2 separate regions of the Homo sapiens genome follow, and region 2 is linked to region 1. Evidence: promoter capture Hi-C in 16 types of primary human blood cells and fetal thymus (Javierre and others, 2016). All regions are on one chromosome and are shown on one strand. Each heading gives the region's core, a stretch centred on a gene start or on the middle of the fragment in contact. The rest is flanking DNA. Distances are from core to core; before and after follow the strand shown. Region 1 holds the start of SLC38A11 (solute carrier family 38 member 11). Region 2 has its middle 19 kb from the start of GALNT3.

Region 1 (4,647 bases), core at 1,530-4,029:
AAGGAAACCCAGCTTGCTTCATTGAATAAGGCAATCCTGAAAAAACATAAAATGCCCCACCCTTCACATTAACAAGAAAGCTAGAAACACAGAAATTCCCCCCTTCAATTTCTGCATATAATAGGTAAAGTCAATTTATATACTTATATGACGTATTTGTAAGTTGCACATAGGACAGAATTAATATTAAATGTTAGGTATTAATACTTATTTCAGAATAAAATGTTATTAGCTTAGGGACAAGTTAAGAGAGCAAGTTTCTGAGGTGACGGAATAAGAATTAGAAAGCAGCAAATGAAAAACAAATGCCAGTTCACACAAATAACGTTTACTTCAGGGTAAGAGTGACATAGCCCTGCAATATGTGGAAAGTCATTACCTCAAATCCTTCCTTACCTGCTAGCCAAGAAAGCAGAGAGGATAATAAGGAGCACAGAAGGGTTATGGAATATTAAGAAAGACAGACTCTGGAGTCAAAATGGGGCTACTATGTAGGAAAAAAATGAGAGAAAAATGAGAAGGCGAAAGTATTTTTTATAATGCTCAAAGGGGTACATAAATTATTTCTTATAATTTTGGGGGAAATTGACAACTTTAGATTATGGACAATAAAATATTTAAAACAAACACAGTTAACGTATTTCCAGTCAAAATTTTTATTCTCTGAAAAGTTTTCCCTTAAAGAAAAGAAAACAAGCTGCTGAGCAGTGGTACTGTTTAGCATTGCTGACACGGCTTAACTTAACACGTTCACATCAGGAATTAGCTCTAGAATTCTTCTAAGTACAGCTGCTCATACCTTCATGGTACATGGAGGTAGAATTGTAAACAAGTCTTTGTCCCTGTTTCCTTCTACTTTACCTCAGGTAACTCCATTTTATGTATCATTTGGAGAAAAAAAAAAGACTATCCATAGAAAAATGTAAAATCAAGAACCATATTAACTTGTGAAAAGTAAGAAAAGTAATTCAAGAGTAAGAAAAGTAACTCAATCCAGATAAATGTTTAATTTTCAGAAGGTGATGACAGAAACAAAAATGTTGCAACTTTATAAAACATTGTATTCTCAAAAAGTATTGCATTTTGCAGGATTTTGTTTTCTTCTTGTCTTTTCTGAGATAGAGTGTTTTCAGATACCAAAAAGAATAATAACCACTGAAAATATAGCTGCTTTTATTACTATAATGCAATGCACTTTTAACTTTTTTCAGTAAATTTCCCTTGCTTCTAATACAATGGAAAAATCTGAGCTATTTATTTATTTTAATTCTGATTGTATGGCTCCTTTATTAGGAAAATAATACGCATTTTCAATGAACAAATTTGCATTGTTGACTAAATAATATTTAAAATTAATATATTGTAATAATTTTGTACTTTAAAATTTAACACTGTATAGATAGGTAAAGAATGTATGAATTTAATTTTTCATAAGATTGGTATGTTTTCATATTAAACTTTTCACCTCCAACATTTACAAATATCTGGAAGTTTTATACTTCTAGAAAGTTAAAGAAAGATGATTCAAATAATGATGGACCCTTCAGTAAGTGGAAAAAGTACATTCGGTAACACTAGCAATCAACCACGCAGCCTACAGAAAAATGATTCACCACCACCCATATGCAGTTTCACCTTAATCTACCACATGTGGAAGATGCTCTCAACTGTGGAAACAGTGTGAATTACAGCCCCATCTTCAGCATAAAAGACATGCATACATACTGTTACACTAGAAAAAAAGGAAGCCTTTTATGGAAGAAAATTACCAATTTTCTTATTTAAGTCTTTTTTTCTTTAAAAATAATTAATGAACACTAGCAGCGTAGCGAGTCTTAAATTTTGCCCTTTCACTTAAAATTTAAACCAAAGCAAATACACTTACCTATTATACCAGATCCTATAATCGAGTTGACAACATTAAAAAGAGCAGCAGACTGACAGGTTTTCTCTTTATACTCATGTTCAGAAACAAGGGTTTCTCTGTCATCTAAATCTCTCTAATAGATAAAATAGCAATTATAAGCAAATACTAGTTCAGAAAATTAGAAAAGTAACAAATATGTAATGCAGGATACTAACACGATTTTCTAGTAATAATAAGTAATGTCACTAATGAAAATAAAATAAATGCCGGGATAACAGTAATAAAGAATAACAATAACAGCTAGTAATTCAACAGAGCTTGGTAAGCAAACTCCATCCTAAAATTTCCAGATTACAGCTGCCCCAGCTGCTAAGTACAGGATCTGTTAGGAATTCAGTGATGTGATTTTGTGAAATTAAAGTGCCTGCTAAGAAAAAAAAAAAAAAAAGTCAGATTAAGGCAAAACTTTTTGTCCCAGAGAACTTTTCGCGGTGCTAAACCAAGAGCCCAGGTGAAGGTAGGTGACCTGACCTGTTGCAAGGTGAATGAAATTTCCGGACAACTGGCTTCAGAACCTGCCTAGTCGCTAGTTTTACCTGCGGCGGGATGACAGGCTCCTGCCTCTGGTAGCCCATGGCTGAGCGGTGGTCCTCAGCAGGTGGAAGATGCTGGGGCTGGGTACGGATTCGCACCCGGCCAGCCTCCTCCGCCACCTCGCACACAGCCGAGGTCCGCGTGTAGCCGCAGAGCTGCAGGGAGCCAGTTCCACGGGCGCCCCCTGCTCCCTCGGCAGGCCGCGAGGGCTGCAGCCCCAAGATCTCTAGGCTGTGGCAGCCTGGGGCGCTTTTCCACCGGAGTTCGCCCAGACAAATGTATTTTTCCTCCGGAGACGGAGATGCTGCAGGATGTTTCTGATCCGGGCAGCCCTGTCTCCCCGCCTCCCCCCTTCACACCCCCGCCTCCCTGAGAGAACAGGGAGAGCTACTCTTCCCTGGAGCTGCAGAGGACAACTTGTTCCACCCACGCTGCCCTGCCCCGATCTCACAGAGTTATGACCGCCTCGTTGCAGTCCGTTCCTAAGTTAGCTTCTCCTTTGCTGGGGTCTGAAGCCCAGGTAAGAACGCAGAAGCACCCTTGGGCCCATGGGCCATCTTCCCTATTAGCACCTCCTCCTCGCTACCCCTCTTCAATGGCAGAGACGACGAGTGAAAATTTGGGACTTTTATTGTAAATGGAAATGGAAAGACTCATAAGAAAATGAATAGCAAAACAAAAAACTTTCCTAGGGTTTTAGCAAACTTGACTACTGAGCATGCTTTGGTCAAACGCTTCCTGGTAACTTTTAGAAAAAGGAGCGATAGAGAAAATGAAGGTGGATTGTTACTGCATTCAGGTAATGAACCTTGAAAAGGGAAAGAGGAGTACAAGGGTTTGGGAAAGGGGTGGCACCTACAGTGCCTGAGCTAGAAAGAATCTTCAATGACCACCTATTCAGTCCTCTTACATTACAGATGAAGCAACAAGCCCAGAGAGTATTCAATATCAGAGACAGAATGCATGAGACAACAGTTTCAGGGGCAATAAGAGCGGTGATATGCCATCATACTTAACAAATTCTGCCTTCCCTTGATATCCATAGGGGATTGGTTCTGGAACCCCTGCAGATACTGAAATCCAGGAATGCTCAGGTCCTTGATAGTAAACAGCATGGTATTTACATGTAACCTAGGCACATCCTCCAGCATACTTTAAATCATCTCTAGATTATTTATAATACCTAATACAATGTAAATGCTATTTACTTGTTGTTATACTGTATTGTTTAGGAAATAAGAAAAAAGTCCATATGTGTTCAGTATAGACACATCCATCCTAGCCCTAACTACATTTTTGATCTGGGATTGGTTTAATGCATGGATGCAGAAGTGGGGATATAGAGGCCAACTGTACCTAATTAAAGAGGTTCTGTTTCATACATGTTTACTTATAATTAAGAAAAAAAATTAAAAACCGTGGGAAAACAAAAGACTTATAAACTTTATATACACTCTGCCATCAAATGTTAACATGCTGTCATATTTTCTTCAAATTGTAAAAGTAAACACAATGTCACAATAGGAACCCCCTTGACCTTCTCCATTCCTTTCCCCAGGCCTTCAGCCCTGGAGTCATCGGTTCATCAAGTTAGTGTTATCTTTGCTATTCATACTTTGTATTTTAATCCGTTCATTTATAGCCATAAACAATATATAACATTGGCTTTTGTATTTTCAACATTTACAAAGATGGTGCCATATTGTACATGTTATTTTTCCACTGGCATTTTTGTTTTCAGCATGTATGATGTAGATATATGCAGATTTTTTTTTCATTTTATCTAACAGTTAAGTCAGCCTTCCCCTACTGAAAGATATTAAGGTTGTTTCTCGTTTTACACTCTTCCAGAGCATAAAAGTGACAATTTCTCTAGATGTAGAAGTGTTAGGTAGTAGGTCATGCACACTTTCAACTTCATTATCATTATTATTATTATTGAGATGGAGTTTCGCTTTTGTTGCCCAGGCTGGAGTGCAATGGTGTGACCTGGGCTTACTGTAACTTCTGCCTCCTGGGTTCAAATGATTCTCTTGCCTCAGCCTCAGGAGTAGCTGGGAATACAGGTGCCTGCCACCACGCCCGGCTAAGTTTTTGTATTTTTAGTAGAGATGGGGTTTCACCATGTTGGCCAGGCTGGTCTTGAACTCCTGACCTCAGGTGATCCACCCTCCTCGGCCTCCCAA
Region 2 (4,647 bases), core at 1,255-3,754, 860 kb after region 1:
TACCATCACACTAGAGGTTAGGGCTTCAACATATAAATTTGGGGGAAGATAAGCGTTTAGACCATTATTTATTTATATGTTAAAAATAATATAGAATATTCCCAGAAGTCAATTTTTGCTCCATGTATTAGAATACTTATTAAACCTTCCTATGCCCAGCAAAATTGTAGACACTGAAAAAATACCAACAGAAAATGGTCCAGCTTTTAATGCATTTAAGCTGAAATAAGAAGTGGTGAACACAGATCCAAATTGAACTAAAATGTTATGTAATCTATAATAGCAACCTTTTATCTGGTGTCTATTATGTGATAATGGTATAACGTACTTTATCTAATCTTCACAACAACACTGCTAGGTAGTTATTAGCCTCATCTTAAGTGTTAGAAAACAGAGAACACTGAGAGGCTAAGAAATTCATTCAAGGCCACCCAGGGCATAAGCAGTGGAGCTGAAGTTTGGACAAGATTTCTTTTTCTCCCCAAGCCATGCTTGCACATAATGCACATACCACTACATGCTGATTAATTCATTTTATGAATAAAATCTTCCCTCTTATAATTCTGCTTTGTTTTTATGCTTTTTCATTCCTAGCTTTCTCACTGGTGACTTATGTGGATGAATCAATGGGAACAAGGTCAGATCATGGACAGATGAGAAAATAATGAGACATTAGATTATTAAGAGAGATGAAGTTAAGAGTGAGAGGTGAATGAAAGGGAAGAAGGGGTGAAAGCTCAGGATTATGAAGGGAATAAACAGGAAAGAGGAGAGAGAAGAAGAGAATGAATACTACCCAGATATTTCTCTGGGCACTGTGGATCTGATGGAATGGTGGTATCCCACCCTGTAACCCTGTCTTCTCTGATCTCTGGCCAAGTGTGTGGCTTGGCACTGCACAACTAACAGTTAGCAGCATTCTGGGGAGAGGCTCATGGTAGTGACCAAATTGCACTTTCCCTAGCTATTCTTGTGTTCTAATCCTCCCCTGAAGGTCTTTTATGGTTAATCTCAAACCATATAAATATTTAACTCTCCTTTTAGTTACATTGCAGAAGCCTGTTCTCAAACAAGTATAAGTTTCAGTAACCACAAATTGATACTAATCTACCCTAATGTCACTGTGTTCCTCTTCTTCAAGTGAGTTGAAAGCATGGATCCATACAATTTGTCTTGTTCAGTTTGTACCTACTTGTATCTTCCATTAACAGAGCATAGACTCTCAGGTATGGAGAACAGATTAAGATCCAATTACTCAGCCAAAATTTCAATCCACCTCTCTCCAGGACATTTTTTTGTTTTTGTTTTTGTTTTTCTTTAACATCCTCCAAACTGGTAGTATAGCTATATCGAGTACTTCCAGTCCATGGAACCTAACACTTCCTCAAGTAGTCCTTTCCATGCTTAGACAACTTCGACTTTAGAGTGTGGTTTCTTATTTCACCAGTCAGGATAGCTAAGCTGTTCTGCAGTAACAAACAGCCCTAAAGTGTCAGCTCTAATACAACAGAGGCTTTCTTTTTTTTTTTTTTTTTTTGGCTAACATTATGTGCCTATCAAATCAGCTTGGCTCTGGTATATATTGATATCCATCTGGGATCCTGGCTGAGGGAGAAGCCCCTCTCTGGGACATTTCTGATCTCATGGCAGAGGAAAAGAGGTCCTGGAGGATCGTATACTGGCCATTAGAGCTTCCACATGTCATTAGCCAACATGCATCACATGGAGTCATCCCACAGAGAAGGACAGGGCCAGGAGCAAGACAACCCAGAGAACAGCCGTAAATATCTGGAATAACAGTGCAATGTACCACATAGTTATTGAGTCAAATCCTTTTCCAAGTCATATCCCTCCTTCCCCATTGCCTTTTCTCTTTACCAGCTCTACAAATGTTAGGAATCCTTAGCCATGTTTTCTTCGAGCTGTCTTTCTTCTAGTCTAATTGGCTCCAATTCCTCCACTGACCTGTTCCCTGTATCTAGTGGTCTTATCTGACATTCTCTTGAGCCTTTTCAGCTGTCTCAAGTCAACTGGTGAGAGAATTGTTGGTCTATTCTCCAAAGGAAGTGGTCCCTTGACATACTTTCCTTTAGGATGATGGGTTTGGCGATGTGGCTGAGCCTTCTAGACAAAAAAAGCTTTCCTTAAACAATATCTCAACTAATCAGTCTCCAAATATTTTAGTAGCTTAAATCTTTAGGCTTTTCACAAATGCCCAGACACTTTGCCTGTTATATATTAGAATGTAGAGATGTTTGAGCACTTCCAGAGGGCAAATGTCACATCCCTGACTATACTTTAGGTAACTTAGCAATATATATACATGGTTGTATTGACAAAACTCCTCAAGCCTACTATTTTTTCATAGGACTGGCTCAGAATGTGGACTTTGGAAATAACCAGTCTTGGATCAAACCCTGATTCCACTCAGTACTACCTATACGACCTTTGACAAGTTAATTAATCCTGAGCTCTTATTTCCTCATCTAATGAGATACAGACAATAAGAGTTATCTTTCTCATGTGGCTGTTGAGAGGATTAAATGACAACAGTGGGGCTCAATCAGTGTCTTCTTTTGTTACCATACTGGGGTCCTAGCACTCAGAGCTATTTCTGGTCTTACTCAAGGACCAGGTCCTCTAGCATCCCTGGGTTTACCATGGTTATGCATAGCTCCCTCCTCTCTCCCAGGTGTCCTTCTCTCCTCCTGAAATGTTTCAGCCTCAAGTCAGCATCATCCGAGCTTGACCAGTATCTCTCAAGGTGTTGTCCAAGAACAAGCTGCACTGGAATCACCTGGAGGCCCACGTGGCTCCATTTCAGACTAACTGACAGAGTTAGAAGATGAAACTAGTAAATCTGTATTTTAACAAGCTTCCCCCAGCTAGAGGTGCCAGATAAATTATAGGACATCCAGTTAAATTTGAATTTCAGATAAACAATGAACAATTTTCAGTATAAGTATGTCTGTCCCATGCAATATTTGGAACATACTTATACTAAAAAAAAATTTATTATTTATCTGAAATTCAAATTAAATGGAGTATCCTGTACTTTTAATTGCTAAATCTGGCAAACAAATCTCAGGGATTCCAATTCTTACTAAATTTGAAGACCACTGGTTTAAGATATTTGGCAAAAATCTCAAATTCAACTTCATGAGCTTCCAAGGAGGGAGGGAGGGAAAGAACGAAGGAAGGAAGGAAGGAAACGAAAGGAAAGGGAAGGGAAGGAAGGAAGGAAGGAAGGAAATGAAAGGAAAGGGAAGGGAAGGGAAGGGAGGGAAGGGAGGGAAGGAAGGGAAGGGAGGGAAGGGAAGGAAGGGAAGGAAGGGAAGGAAGGGAAGGAAGGGAAGGAAGGGAAGGAGAGAAGGAGGGAGGAAGGAGAAGAGAGGAAAGAAAGAAAGGAAGAAAGAGACAAAGAGAGGAAAGAAAAGCAAAGCAAGCGAAGCTTATAGACGGAACACAGATGGCCCATGCATCCACAAAACAAATATGCACAAGACCAAGTAGGTTAGCATTTGTTTCAGCAGCCACAGTGGCAAACATAGACAATCCAGCAGCCAGAGAAAAATCCACTTCCTTGTTTCTCTAGTTTGGAATTGGGCTTTAGGTGTCTCTGTCTCCTTCTGCTGCTTTCTCCTTTTTTTTTTTTTTTTTTTTTTTTTTTTTTGTCTAAACATCTCCATGCTATGCTAGCCAACACCTACTCATCCTCATTTGGTATTTCCTCTTTTGCTTTTTTGCTTTCCTACAAAGCATCTTGGGCCCATCCTCCTCTGTCTGCCCCAAACATCAGAATACCTAATCAAATAGTCATATAGCCATCTTTCTCCCTCTAATATTAAGTGTGGACTCCCTCAATTTTAGTTTTCTGATGGGATTTTCCTAATTCTCAAACCATTCTGTCTTATGTGTACTAGAGTAATGCATTGTGTTTTTGGTTCGTGTACATTTACAGAGGCCTTAAAAGAGACATTAGCTGATTTTTCACAATAACCCCATAATCGAGGCAGATGAAAAACGGAGCCCTTTTATTCCTAGGCCAAGACCCTTCTTACTCAGCCATTGTCTCATCTCAGGTTATTATACTCACATCATTCATTTGTCATTTTAGAATAGTGATTAAAGCACAGCTGTGTGCCTTGGTTAGTTTTATTTTTTTCTTAACCAATCTAAGCTTCCATTTCCTCATTTGTAAACTTAGGTTAACAATAGTGCCTACATCATGAGCACTGGGTTTAGTCAGATGATCAAAGTCTTAGCACTGTGACTGCAAATTGTAAGCACTCAAAATATTAGCCATTATTAAAACTATCTTGTGGGCCAATTCTTTTCCAGGCCCAGCTTTTCTCTTGTTGTCTTTCAGCAAATAGAGATATAAAATGGAAAACTTAGACTAAAACCAGCAGAACAAGAAGTATCAATGGCTGCACAAGGAAGTAATGCAGACCTATGCTAAATTTTCTCTTGGTAAACACTTCCTTTTTCATACCCCTCTCCCTTGAACTTTTTCACCTCCACTCCTACAATTTTATGTTATGCAGAGTCAAAAATATAATCATCCTAAACTAGGCTCAGCAGTGTGGACAGTAACTGATTGAAATATGAGGTTCTTTAATTAGAAGCAGGAACTAGAGTATAGTA

Evidence for each region. Contacts are between HindIII fragments. The CHiCAGO score rates a contact against its expected background, and 5 or more counts as called.
Region 2: a contact is called between a fragment that was not itself captured here and the fragment with the promoter of SLC38A11 in region 1, in 1 of 17 cell types (total B cells). The highest score is 7.0, in total B cells.

What each region holds. Positions count from the first base shown.
Region 1 is chr2:164,952,746-164,957,392 of GRCh38, forward strand. It overlaps SLC38A11 (solute carrier family 38 member 11), which reads right to left and starts at 2,780. Exons shown (of 12, transcript NM_001351537.2): 1 at 2,464-2,780; 2 at 1,886-2,000; 3 at 1-36. The coding sequence starts at 2,502. The HindIII fragment of the contact is 8,780 bases long and covers 1-4,647 here.
Region 2 is chr2:165,811,301-165,815,947 of GRCh38, forward strand. No RefSeq gene overlaps it. Among named protein-coding and RNA genes, the nearest start is that of GALNT3, 19 kb to the left of the region's middle. The HindIII fragment of the contact is 737 bases long and covers 2,137-2,873 here.